Regions from separate parts of the Homo sapiens genome. Here region 2 is linked to region 1. Evidence: promoter capture Hi-C in human tissues and cell types (Jung and others, 2019). All regions are on one chromosome and are shown on one strand. Each heading gives the region's core, a stretch centred on a gene start or on the middle of the fragment in contact. The rest is flanking DNA. Distances are from core to core; before and after follow the strand shown. Region 1 holds the start of C18orf32 (chromosome 18 open reading frame 32). Region 2 overlaps LOC105372112 (a long non-coding RNA gene).

Evidence for each region. Contacts are between HindIII fragments. The study calls those that stand out against the background at their distance.
Region 2: a contact is called between a fragment that was not itself captured here and the fragment with the promoter of C18orf32 in region 1, in 1 of the 25 tissues and cell types used here (H1 embryonic stem cells).

The regions. Positions count from the first base shown.
Region 1 is chr18:49,483,807-49,489,170 of GRCh38, forward strand. It overlaps C18orf32 (chromosome 18 open reading frame 32), which reads right to left and starts at 3,428. Exons shown (of 3, transcript NM_001035005.4): 1 at 3,237-3,428. All of the region lies in intron 5 of RPL17-C18orf32 (RPL17-C18orf32 readthrough), which reads right to left. RPL17 (ribosomal protein L17) reads right to left here. Exons shown (of 7, transcript NM_001035006.5): 7 at 4,675-4,760. The coding sequence ends at 4,713. MIR1539 (microRNA 1539) reads left to right here and starts at 3,567; the gene lies at 3,567-3,616. RefSeq lists a silencer at 3,157-3,286 and an enhancer at 3,327-3,486. The HindIII fragment of the contact is 6,566 bases long and covers 1-3,898 here.
Region 2 is chr18:49,732,001-49,737,364 of GRCh38, forward strand. LOC105372112 (a long non-coding RNA gene) reads left to right here. Exons shown (of 5, transcript XR_007066363.1): 4 at 4,704-4,797. Among named protein-coding and RNA genes, the nearest start is that of ACAA2, 79 kb to the right of the region's middle. The HindIII fragment of the contact is 5,699 bases long and covers 10-5,364 here.

The DNA.
Region 1 (5,364 bases), core at 2,178-4,677:
ACAGATTAGTAACTGAAAGAATTTACCAAGATTAAGATATCTGAAAGGGGATAGATGTGGTGGCTCACGCCTGTAATCCCAGCACTTTGGGAGGCAAGAGGATAGCTTGAGCCCAGGAGTTTGAAACCAACTTGCACAACAAAGTGAGACCTTGTCTCTACAAGATCAAAAAATTAGCTGGGCATGGTGGCATACTCCTGTGGTCCCAGCTACATAAGTGGCTGGGACAAGAGGATCACTAGAGCCCAGGAGGTTGAGGCTGCAGTGAGCCGTGTTCATGCCACTGCTCTCCAGCCTGGATGACACAGAGACACTTTGTCTCAAAAAAAGAAAAAAAAAAAATATATATATATATATATATACACACACACACACACACACACACACACACACACGAAAGGACTATTTCTACAGTGTAGGAAAAACTTAAAACATACTATTATATTTGCTAAAAAAAAAAGACTTTATTAAATAAAAAGCTGCTATCTACAAGGTAAAGAAATAGGCCAGGTGCAGTGGCTCATGGCTGTAATCCCAGCACTTTGGGAGGCCAAGGCGGGTGGATCATGAGGTGAGGAGTTCGAGACCAGCCTGGCCAACATGGTGAAACCCTGTCTCTACTAAAAATACAAAAATCAGCGGGGTGTTGTGGCATGCGCCTGTAATCCCAGCTACTCGGAAGGCTGAGGCAGAATTGCTTGAACCCAGGAGGCAGAGGCTGCAGTGAGCCGAGATCCCACCACTGCACTCCAGCCTAGGTGACAGAGCAAGACTCCATCTCAAAATAAAGAAATAATAGGTGGTAGGCATGAATAATAATGAGGTGCCTGCTTCCAAACTTCCAGTCACTGCTCCTTAATCATGAATTTGATTATAAAGGAAAAACAACAACATTTGGTAGGTGCTAGACAGTTTACATATAACAACTCATTTAATCCTCAATCAGTGAGGTTGGGTACCCTTGCTACTATGTCTATTTAGAGTTTAAAAAATGAGCCGGGTGTGGTGGCTCACACCTGTAATCCCAGCACTTTGGGAGGCCAAGGCGGGCAGATCACCTGAGGTCAGGAGTTCGAGACCAGCCTAACCAACATGGTGAAACCCCGTCTCTACTAAAAACACAAAATTAGCCAGCCATGGTGGAGCAGGCCTGTAATCCCAGCTACTCGGGAGGCTGAGGGGGAAGAATTGCTTGAACCCGGGAGGTAGAGGTTGCGGTGAGCCAAGATCATGCCACTGCATTCCAGCCTGGGTGACAGAGCAAAACTCCGTCTCAAAAAAAAGATTTCTTATTTTCAAAATACTGCAAATTAAGTAGCATCTGCTGGCAACTGAGTCAGCACCATCACTATGCTTAGACATTTAAAAATTATTCACAATACAGGTAAACGGTGGCATAGAGAATCAAATCTGAATGTCTTTGAAATGAATTACAAGCAAGAGCTATAAACAAAAATGTAAATTGAGGCTGGGCGCGGTGGCTCACGCCTGTAATCCAAGCACCTTGGGAGGCCGAGGGGGTGGATCATCTTAGGTAAGGAGTTCGAAACCAGCCTGGCCAACATGGCAAAACCCTGTCTCTACTAAAAATACAAAAATTAGCTGGGCGTGGTGGTGGGCACCTGTAATCCCAGCTACTGGGGAGGCTGAGGCAGGAGAATTGCTTGAACCTGGGAGGCGGAAGTCGCAGTGAGCTGAGATTGCGCCATTGCACTCCAGCCTGCGTGACAAGAGCAAAACTCCGTGTCAGAAAAAAAAAAAATAAAAATAAAATAAAATAAAATCAATTGCTGGGGCAATAGTGATTTTTTTTTTTTTGAGACAGGGTCTTGCTCTGTTGCTCAGGCTAAAGTGCAGTGGCTCAAACATACCACCTGTGTTCAGAGTTCACTGCAGCCTTGACTTCCCAGAATCAAGCTATCCCCCTTCCTCAGCCTCCTGAGTAGGTAGGACCACAGCCCTGCGCCACGATGCCCGACAGATTTTTTAATTCTTAGTAGAGATGAGGTCTCACTGTGTTGCCCATGCTGATCTTAAAGTCCTAAGCTCAAATGATCCTCCCGCCTAGGCCTCCCAAAGTGCTGGGATTACTGGAACCTGGCCTAATTTTTTTTTTTAAATAATTAGCAAGGTGTGATGGCACGCGCCTGTAGTCCCAGGTATTTGGGGAGCTGAGGAAGGAGAGAACCGCTTGCGCCCAGGAAAGCCGAAACTGCCGTGAGCTATGATGGCCCACTGGACTCCAGCCTGGGCCACAGAGGCAGACCCTGTCTCAAGATTAAAAAAAAAAAAAAATCCAAAAGTTGTAACCTGTCCAAAGTTCTCACAGAGGTAACTGGTAACTAGAGCTTCTAAGACCATTATTTCCAGTTCTGGTTTTCCTCAATGCTCTTGCCTTTTCCTCTTCCAAAAACACAATGGTCATGTTTTTACCAAACTTTTACCAAACTTTCCAAACCAACGAAACCCCTTCAAAACAACTGACAATGCTACCAGTACTAGTTTAGTGACTGACAGGCCCTCCATCATAAAGATTCATTTTTACTTCTGCAATTGTGTTTTAAGTAAGTTCGCACACAGTACGATGTACATAAACTCTCGAGGACAAATACTACTAATCACTTACGCCACAATTACGGCTTTTAAGAGACTTTTTAGCTCTCTTCGGAATGAAGCCTATTTGTATCTTATCTTTTAATCTTCATAATAATACTTCGGTAAGATATTTTACTTCACACATATGGAAACTGGGTCAGAAAAGTCTAGAAGGTGGCTACGAGATATTATTATTTTAATTATTCGCTCCAAGCCAACAAAGCGAGCAAAACGGATTAAAGCTGTTGCAGAGGAATCTTCTTTCACTCAACTTAAGTCCAGACAACAGAGTAGACAGTTAAAGTCTGAGGCTCCATCCGAAATAGGGAAGGCATAACAGGGAAAGTCACCTTCCTCCAAGTCATCCAGTTGAGCATGTCATCTTAGTGGAGACAGAGGGAGCGGGGACAGGTTGAGTCAATGACAATGATTGAAAAGAGACGAGAACAGAGGCCTAACGGTGAAGGTCATAGAAAGGATGTGAAACCGATACTTGGCCACGGAAAAGAACAAAATCAATATAAAGTATCGGAGAGGCAAATGCAAGCTCCGAGGGCGCCGGTGGTGGACAAAGAATACAGACAGAGGGGAGGGGAGGGCGGGGCGGAGGGCGGAGGAGCGCGCTCGCGGAAGGAAGGTACCCTGAGAGCGAAGGCAGGCACCGCGGAGGCCGGCGGGCCGCGACCGCCGAGGAGGGAGGAGGCAGGAGGCCGCGCACCGCCTAGGACTCTGCGAGCGCGGCCCGGGCTGGGCCTGCGGAGCAGCTACAAAGCCCAACCCAGGCCGCTAGCCCGGGCACACTCACCCGCGACCGCGGAAACGCAGCTGACAATGTCCGCACTTCCGGAGGGAGGGACGATCCGCAGCCGAGCCAATGGGCGCCTTCAACGGGGACGACAAAGGCGCGCTTGCGTCAACCCGGGGTCGCACAGCACGCAGCAGTGTTGCCCAAGGGGCGCGGCGAGGCTTCCGGCTCTGCGGCCTGCAGGTAGCGCGAAAGTCCTGCGCGTCCCAGATGCCCAACTAAAAGCTTCGCTGCGGGAAGAAAGCCTGACCTGACTACACCCAGACCCAGAACGCAGGATCTCGGTAAAGGATGATGCCTGTGCAAACGGCGCGGCACCCACACGGAAGGTGGCAGCTAGGCCGTTGAGGCAACTGTGGATAAGCTATTAGTTTTGCTGGTTTCTTAAATTCAAGGGCAGAGCAAACTAACATTAAGGCCAACTTTACAAACGTCAGTTGCTTAAAAGAAGCAGTTACATCACTTTATAAACGAAAAGTACTGACGCTCGCTAGGATGTCAGTACGTGTTGGCGAAGTTGTGTGAAAACTGGGACCCTCATAAACCGTTGGTGGAAATGTAGCGTGCAGCCTTTTTGGAAATATTTGGAAGTTCCTCAGATGTTTACTCAGGTAACCTTATGATCTAGCAATTCCACTCTAGTATATACTCAATAAATGAAAACACAAAAATCTGCACACAAACGTTCACAGTACCATCGTTCCTAATAGCAAAAACAAAACCCCTTTATCAATTGACGAAATGATACAGGTTGAGCATCAACCTAAAAAGCTTCAAAACCTGAGCCTGAGTGCTGTTATCATACTCAAAGGCAATGCTCAATGGAGCCATTTCCAACTGGGGATGATCAACTGGTATATTCACATACTGGATTGTTCTGCAAAGAAAACCACTGCAAATTCCTTTTGGGATAATGAAACTTTTTTTGAGACAGGGTCTTGTTCTGTCTTGCCCACGCTGGGGTGCAGTAGTGCTCACTGCAGCCTCCCACCTCAGCCCCCCAATTAGCTGGGACTACATGCAAGTGACACCACACTTACTTTTTTTTAACAGACAGGGTTCTGACATGTTGCCCTGGCTGGGCTTAAGCAGTCAGCCTCCACCTCCCAAAGTGCTGGGACTACAGAAATGAGCCACTGTGCCCAGCCATGAAAATGGTTTTTAATGGTGCAGGGTAAACAATCTTGTGTTTCTAGTTCTAATCCTAAAAAATCCTCATTTGATCCATCTTGTAAGGACACTTGAAATATGTTCACTAATAAAGACAACCAACATTCTTTTCCTTTTAATTACATTTATTTTAATGCTGAATTTACTCCCGTGCCATAAGTTTTTGTTTCTTCAGTTTCTTCTGGGATATCTGGGGAAAGAAAAATGTGTTAAGTTTCTTAGAGAAAACCACAGTACATCTTGGAGGACTTCAGCTTATTCTGGAGGCAGGAAACCTAGTCGTTAAGGACTAAGGGGGAAAAATACTTAAATGGTAGAAATCAACAGAACTTAAGTTCATTAGATGTAAAAAGAAGTGTACAGAATCACTCAGGTTCTTGACTTAAAAGAACTAAATGTGATCAATTACTGAAAACAAGCTTCTTAGATTTGGGGAGAGGGCCCATTTTGAAGTGGCTATGTACATCTAAGTGGGGCCATCAGCAGATAATCATACGGGCCTGAGGTACTGAATATAAAACTACCAGTTTTTTTTTTTTTGAGACAGCGTCTCGCTCTGTCACCCAGGCTGGAGTGCAGTGGCGCGATCTCGGCTCACTCCTAGTTCCTCCTCCCGGGTTCATGCCATTCTCCTGCCTCAGCCTCCTGAGTAGCTGGGACTACAGATACCCGCCACCACGCCCAGCTAATTTTTTTTTGCATTTTTAGTAGAGACGGGGTTTCACTGTGTTAGCCAGGATGGTCTCGATCTCCTGACCTTGTGATCCACCCACCTCAGCCTCCCAAAGTGCTGG
Region 2 (5,364 bases), core at 1,609-4,108, 250 kb after region 1:
CTTTCAAGGAATTTACAGACTCAGAACATGTTATTAAGTGAACCATAAGACACAGTGATATGTGTACTTATGCAAGTCCATGCAAGGCCCAGAAACATACCTAGGAAGAAGGAATTCAGTCTGGGGAGGTGAGGGAGCTATGAAGGGGAGGGGACACTGGAGCAGGCTTCTGAATGATGAGAGTGAGGCTGGAGGCAAGACACTACTGAGCAATGACTGCTTTCCCCCAGCCTTTGTTGACCTTGCTTAGGTGACTGGCTGTTTGGCTTCCTTCGCCACAGGCTAGTTCTTGCCTGTGCACAGTGGCTCCTGTAGAGAAGCTTGAATCAGTTCCTCAGGGGATGAGCTCAGGGCCATTTGGCCATATAGGCCACCCTGGGTTTTTTAACTTGGAGAAGAGCTGAGTATTCTAAAATGCATATTTTTGGGCTTTGGCATTTGTGTTTATATACCTAAGGATTTCTATATGGAGAATAAGAAAGTATTACGTCTACTTTGTCGGGCTCAGAAAACTGAGATAGGACCAGATATGGGGAGACTTCATTAGACCCTTGATATGACCCTGGCTGAGCTGCTCAGCCTCCCTCCTGCATTCCTGCCCACCCAGCCCTGCAGCCCCTGATGCCTGGGCATTACTAAACTGTTTGCTATTCTTGGAACACATTAACCCTCTCCTCCTCCATGTCTCTGCAATGCTGCTCTCTCTCCCAGGAAGGCCTCCATTTTTTCTTTTTCCTTTTTTTTTTTTAAACAGGATCTTGCTCTGTTGCCTAGGTTGGAGTGCAGTAGTGTTATGATGGCTCACCACAGCCTCGACCTCCCAGGCTCAGGTGATCCTCCTCCCACCTCAGCCTCCCAAGTATCTGGGACTACAGGTGCACACCACCATGCCCAGCTAATTTTTTGTATGTTTTTGTAGAGATGGGGTTTCACCATGTTGCTCAGGCTGGTCTCAAACACCTGAGCTCAAGCGATCCACCCACCTCAGCCTCCCAAAGTGCTGGCATCACAGGCATGAGCCACCACACCCTGCCAGGCCTCCTCCTTGTCACCGTCACCGTGACTTCTTGTTCTCACACTTCACATAGAGGGCTACTTCTTCTGGAACCTTTTGCTCCTTCCTGGGAGACCTATGTATTCCTCCTCTTATGTTCTCACAATCCTTCATACAGTCTGTGGAGGAAAGGGGGAAGAGGGGACCTAATGACAAGAAAGTGTAAAATTGAGAAAATAGGAGGCTCTGCAGGGCCAAGCCCAGGGACACTCTGTCAGACCGAATAGTCCATTCCCCTCCCATCAGTCAACAGTGCTCAGCACTTTGCCCATTGAGGGTTCTGTTTAGAATGACATCATTTGTCCCTAGAGATGCTATCAAGGCCCTTCTGGAAGGGCCTAGCCCAAGTGGACAACCCCTGCTCAACCACCCAAACCACTCATAAGCTACCTGCTACCCCAACATCACAGTCATTATTTGATTGTGTTGTTATTGGCGGCACAGATGTCTCCTCTCTGAATTGTAAGTTCCTTGGGGCTAACTTATAGCTTATAGAGTTATTCAGCAGGCATTCAATAAATAGATGTTGAATGAGTCAGTGAGTTAGTGTGGAGAAGGAATACATTAACCCTTCCCATGGATGGAGAATGGTGATCAAAGAAGAAATTAATAATAACCAAAAACCTGGGCTCTTATCAATGTAACTATGGGCAGGTGCTCTGACCTTTGGAAGCCTTTTCTTTCTGAGGATGAGGATGGTGGGCCCTTGAGCTCAGGCTGCAAAATGTTGACCCTAAGAGCACCGACCTTTCTTACAATGGCAGGTTTTTCCAAGTGCAATCTGCTGCCTCCAGAAATGCTCTCTTAGACTGGTAACTTCCTGTTGGAACCCTGCATGGGGTGGAGAACCAGGTTCCCCTCCCCGCATCCCCTTTGTAACGCAAAGGTTTTTCTTGTCGACTTGCCCACAGTCTCACCACTGGTTAAGATGGAGTTGAACATCCCAACAAGTTCTCTTTCTACAAGACCATGTTGCCCCATCACAATACCTGAAAATCTGCAACCATTTGAAATATGCCAAGAGTACTCCACAGACTCCACTTTGCAGTCACCAGCCAAAATGCCAAGCATAGCTAGAGGAGATAAAGGGATGTCAATCAATCTTGTTGAAGATGTAAAACCAGGAAAGGGACTGGAGGCACTTCATGACACCCATTTTGGGTCAGAAGAAGAAGTGAGAGAGAAACTGGGAAATGGAAATAAAGGAAAGGGAGAGTTTGAAAGAGCTTATTATTAGAAACCAGACGGGTGAACTCTGGGGTCAGTTTCCTTCCCAGTAGCTTTTCTTGAGCCCTTCCCAGTGACAAGGTGTGGTTTTTGGCGAGGAGGCTTTCTTGGCTGTGGCACGAAAAGAAGGGATGCTGGGCTAGCAGTTTTCTGGGTCTTGGGGTTTCAAAGTCGAGAGGGCAGAAGGTTATCCTTTTGAGCTTGTGGTCGTGCACAGCTGACATCTGATGAATTGAAGCATCCAAGAGGCTTACCCTTCACCCCATGGTTGAGCCCAGAGCTATTCTCAAGAATGAGAGGAACCAGAGAAGACTTCAGTGTCAGCTGTCCAGGCCAAAGAGTTAGGAGTTTAGTTTTCTTGGTTCTGTCACTCCAAGACATTCTGGCTACAGCAACATTGTTGAAGGTGTGTCTCTGAGGTTACATATTAGAGCATCATGTGGAAAATTTAAACATATTTCTTTAAGATTTCATGAAGCAGACACTGATAATTGGCTACCCCTAAAGGCTCTCTCAACCCCAATCTCCCTTGCCATTTCTCACCATCAATGCAAGAATTGTTAAATATTTACTCCCATAGTCTTCCTCGCAGATAGGAACATGAGTCTTCCATGCAGATAGCCACATGATCCTGTTCTAACCATGAGATAGAAGCAGAAGTTGAAAGTTTTTAGAAACCTTATGCTTTCATGATGAATGAAACTGAGAGGACCAACTTGGGATTTTTCCTTCCTCCTCCCGTGTGCTATAAATACAAACATGATGGCCAGAACAGAGGCAGCCCTCGTGGTAACTATGAGGGAAAGCCAAGAAAATCACAGTGACATCTGTCCGAACATGACTGACCCATTGAATCCAGGCCAGCAACTTTCTCTCTCAGAGCTTCTTGTCTTTTTTAAAAAACTCAACATTTGAAGGTATTATCATTAAGTTTTCTGGCTTTTTTTTTTTTTTTTTGCTGCTGAGCGCAATCATAATTGATACCCAGAAAGTCTCAGTACCTTTAATATGCTAATGTGTATTTTGAATCTCCAAGAGGTGAAGAGAACATGCACCAATTCCAAACTTGTATGACTCAGATACCATTTTAAAAAAAATAATTGTTATGGGATTAGTGTTTCAGGTACACCCCTTGGGAAACTCTGCGTTAGGGGATCACAAGCCTGGTGTGATGGATGGACACTATTGGGGGGCGCCCATGTTCATGCCCTGGATAATCCCTTCCTTTGGAGTGTAAGACCTGTCACTTGCTTCTAACCATTAGAATATGGCAAAGTAGATGGGATGCCACCCCCACGATTATGTCACAAGATACAGAGAGGGAAAGAGAACAAGATATACATACGTAATACATATAGGTAGTTCCATCTTGCTAGCATGTGCTAGACAGAATCTCCTACTGGTCTTGAAGCAGTAAATTGCACCGCTGTAAACTGCCTATGGAGAGGGCCACACAGCCAGAAACTGTGTGCCCTTTAGGAGCTGAGGGCTTCAGTCATACAGCTGCAAGAACTGAATTCTACCAACAACCACAGGAGCTTCGAAGGGACCACAACTTCAGGTGAAACCACCACAGCACCGACCAACAGGGCAATTGAATTGCAGCCCCATGAGATCCTGAGCAGAATTAAGCTGTACTCAGAGTTCTGATCCATGGAAGCTAGGAGATAATCAATGTGTGTGTTGTTTTAAACACTAAGTTTGTGGTCATTGTTACACAGCAATAGAAAACTAGTATACCCAGGAAAGGGCCGGCTCTCAATGCAATGCTGTGGCTTGTAGGTCAGCTGTTATACGGGGTTTGGGACTGATGAAGTTCAGCCTTTCTCCTATAGTTCATCTGCTTTCCTTCTAGCACATTGTCCTCAAACACAGCTGCCCTAACCTAGCAAACTCTTTCACATCGAAAACCCTCAATAAATGAAACAGCTCCAAATACAGGCCATTCTGCCATGAGTTTTGTCACCTCCTGTTGGTCTTTGAGTCTTTAGAAATACGAAGTTGCCTTGTACAGAGGGTTCATTCCATGTTCCAGCTACTTGGAGAGAAATTGTCTTCCCTGGGGGGCTTGGACATTATTCTTGGAGACTATTTTGCCCCTCAGATTAGAGAAGCTGGTTTCCTGGTATTTTGGTTATTTATCATTCTTTCCTGTTCTCATTTGAGATTCAAAATATATGCCTTCCTGCGAAACTTCCAGAAGAGGAATTGATGGGTGAGAGTAGCAAAGAGGCTTTGTGGGGTCCTTTTCACAGGGGTATTTCCAAACTTTTTCTAGTAAAAAAATAAAAAGAGTCCATTTACCTGAGTTTTTAATATTTTGTCTTTTGCTCCAAATATTAAAGTCTGTGGCTTCAGACATCTATTTAGCAGATGCGTGTTTGCTACTTACTCGGTTATTCCTTTCATTAACTTTTTCTAGACTCCCGTTTCACCTGAGGCACAGAAGCTTTCCTTTGTTCACCGTTGCCAGCAGTTATTGGACTGTGGCTGGGATTACCTGTCAGAATTCACAGGTGAGCTCCACTCTGCACAGGGCCATGAGACCCTCCTGCCCAATCCACCCCGGATCCCCTCCATCTGTTCACACTCATCTGTCTTCTTTTCTATCAAGTCACAGACGGAAGATTTGTCTACAAAGAAATTTAAAACTGCAGCATAGTGTTTTTTTTAAAAACAAACAAAACAAGACTATCATTAAAATCAGAGTGGAGAGACCAGCCACAAAGATTTTGCAAAATTCTACAAAAAGAAAAAAAAAAGACAAAGGGTTAATATTCCTGTTATAAAATGTGCACTTACTTTTCAGTAAGAACTAAATGGTCACATTGAAAAATGGGGAGGACATGACTGTGTAAATCTGAGAGAAGAAATATAATTGCCCAAGAACTATGAAAAGATAATGATATTCCAACTTACATTAATCAGCGAAATGCACATTTTATTTAAATTTAAATTTTACATTGTATTGGAACAGTTTTAGATTGGCAAAGAATAAACAGAGTGATAAAACCAAGTGTAGGAAAGGTTTAGAAAATATGAGCGATTTCACATCCTGCTGTTAGGACTGTAAATGGATACAA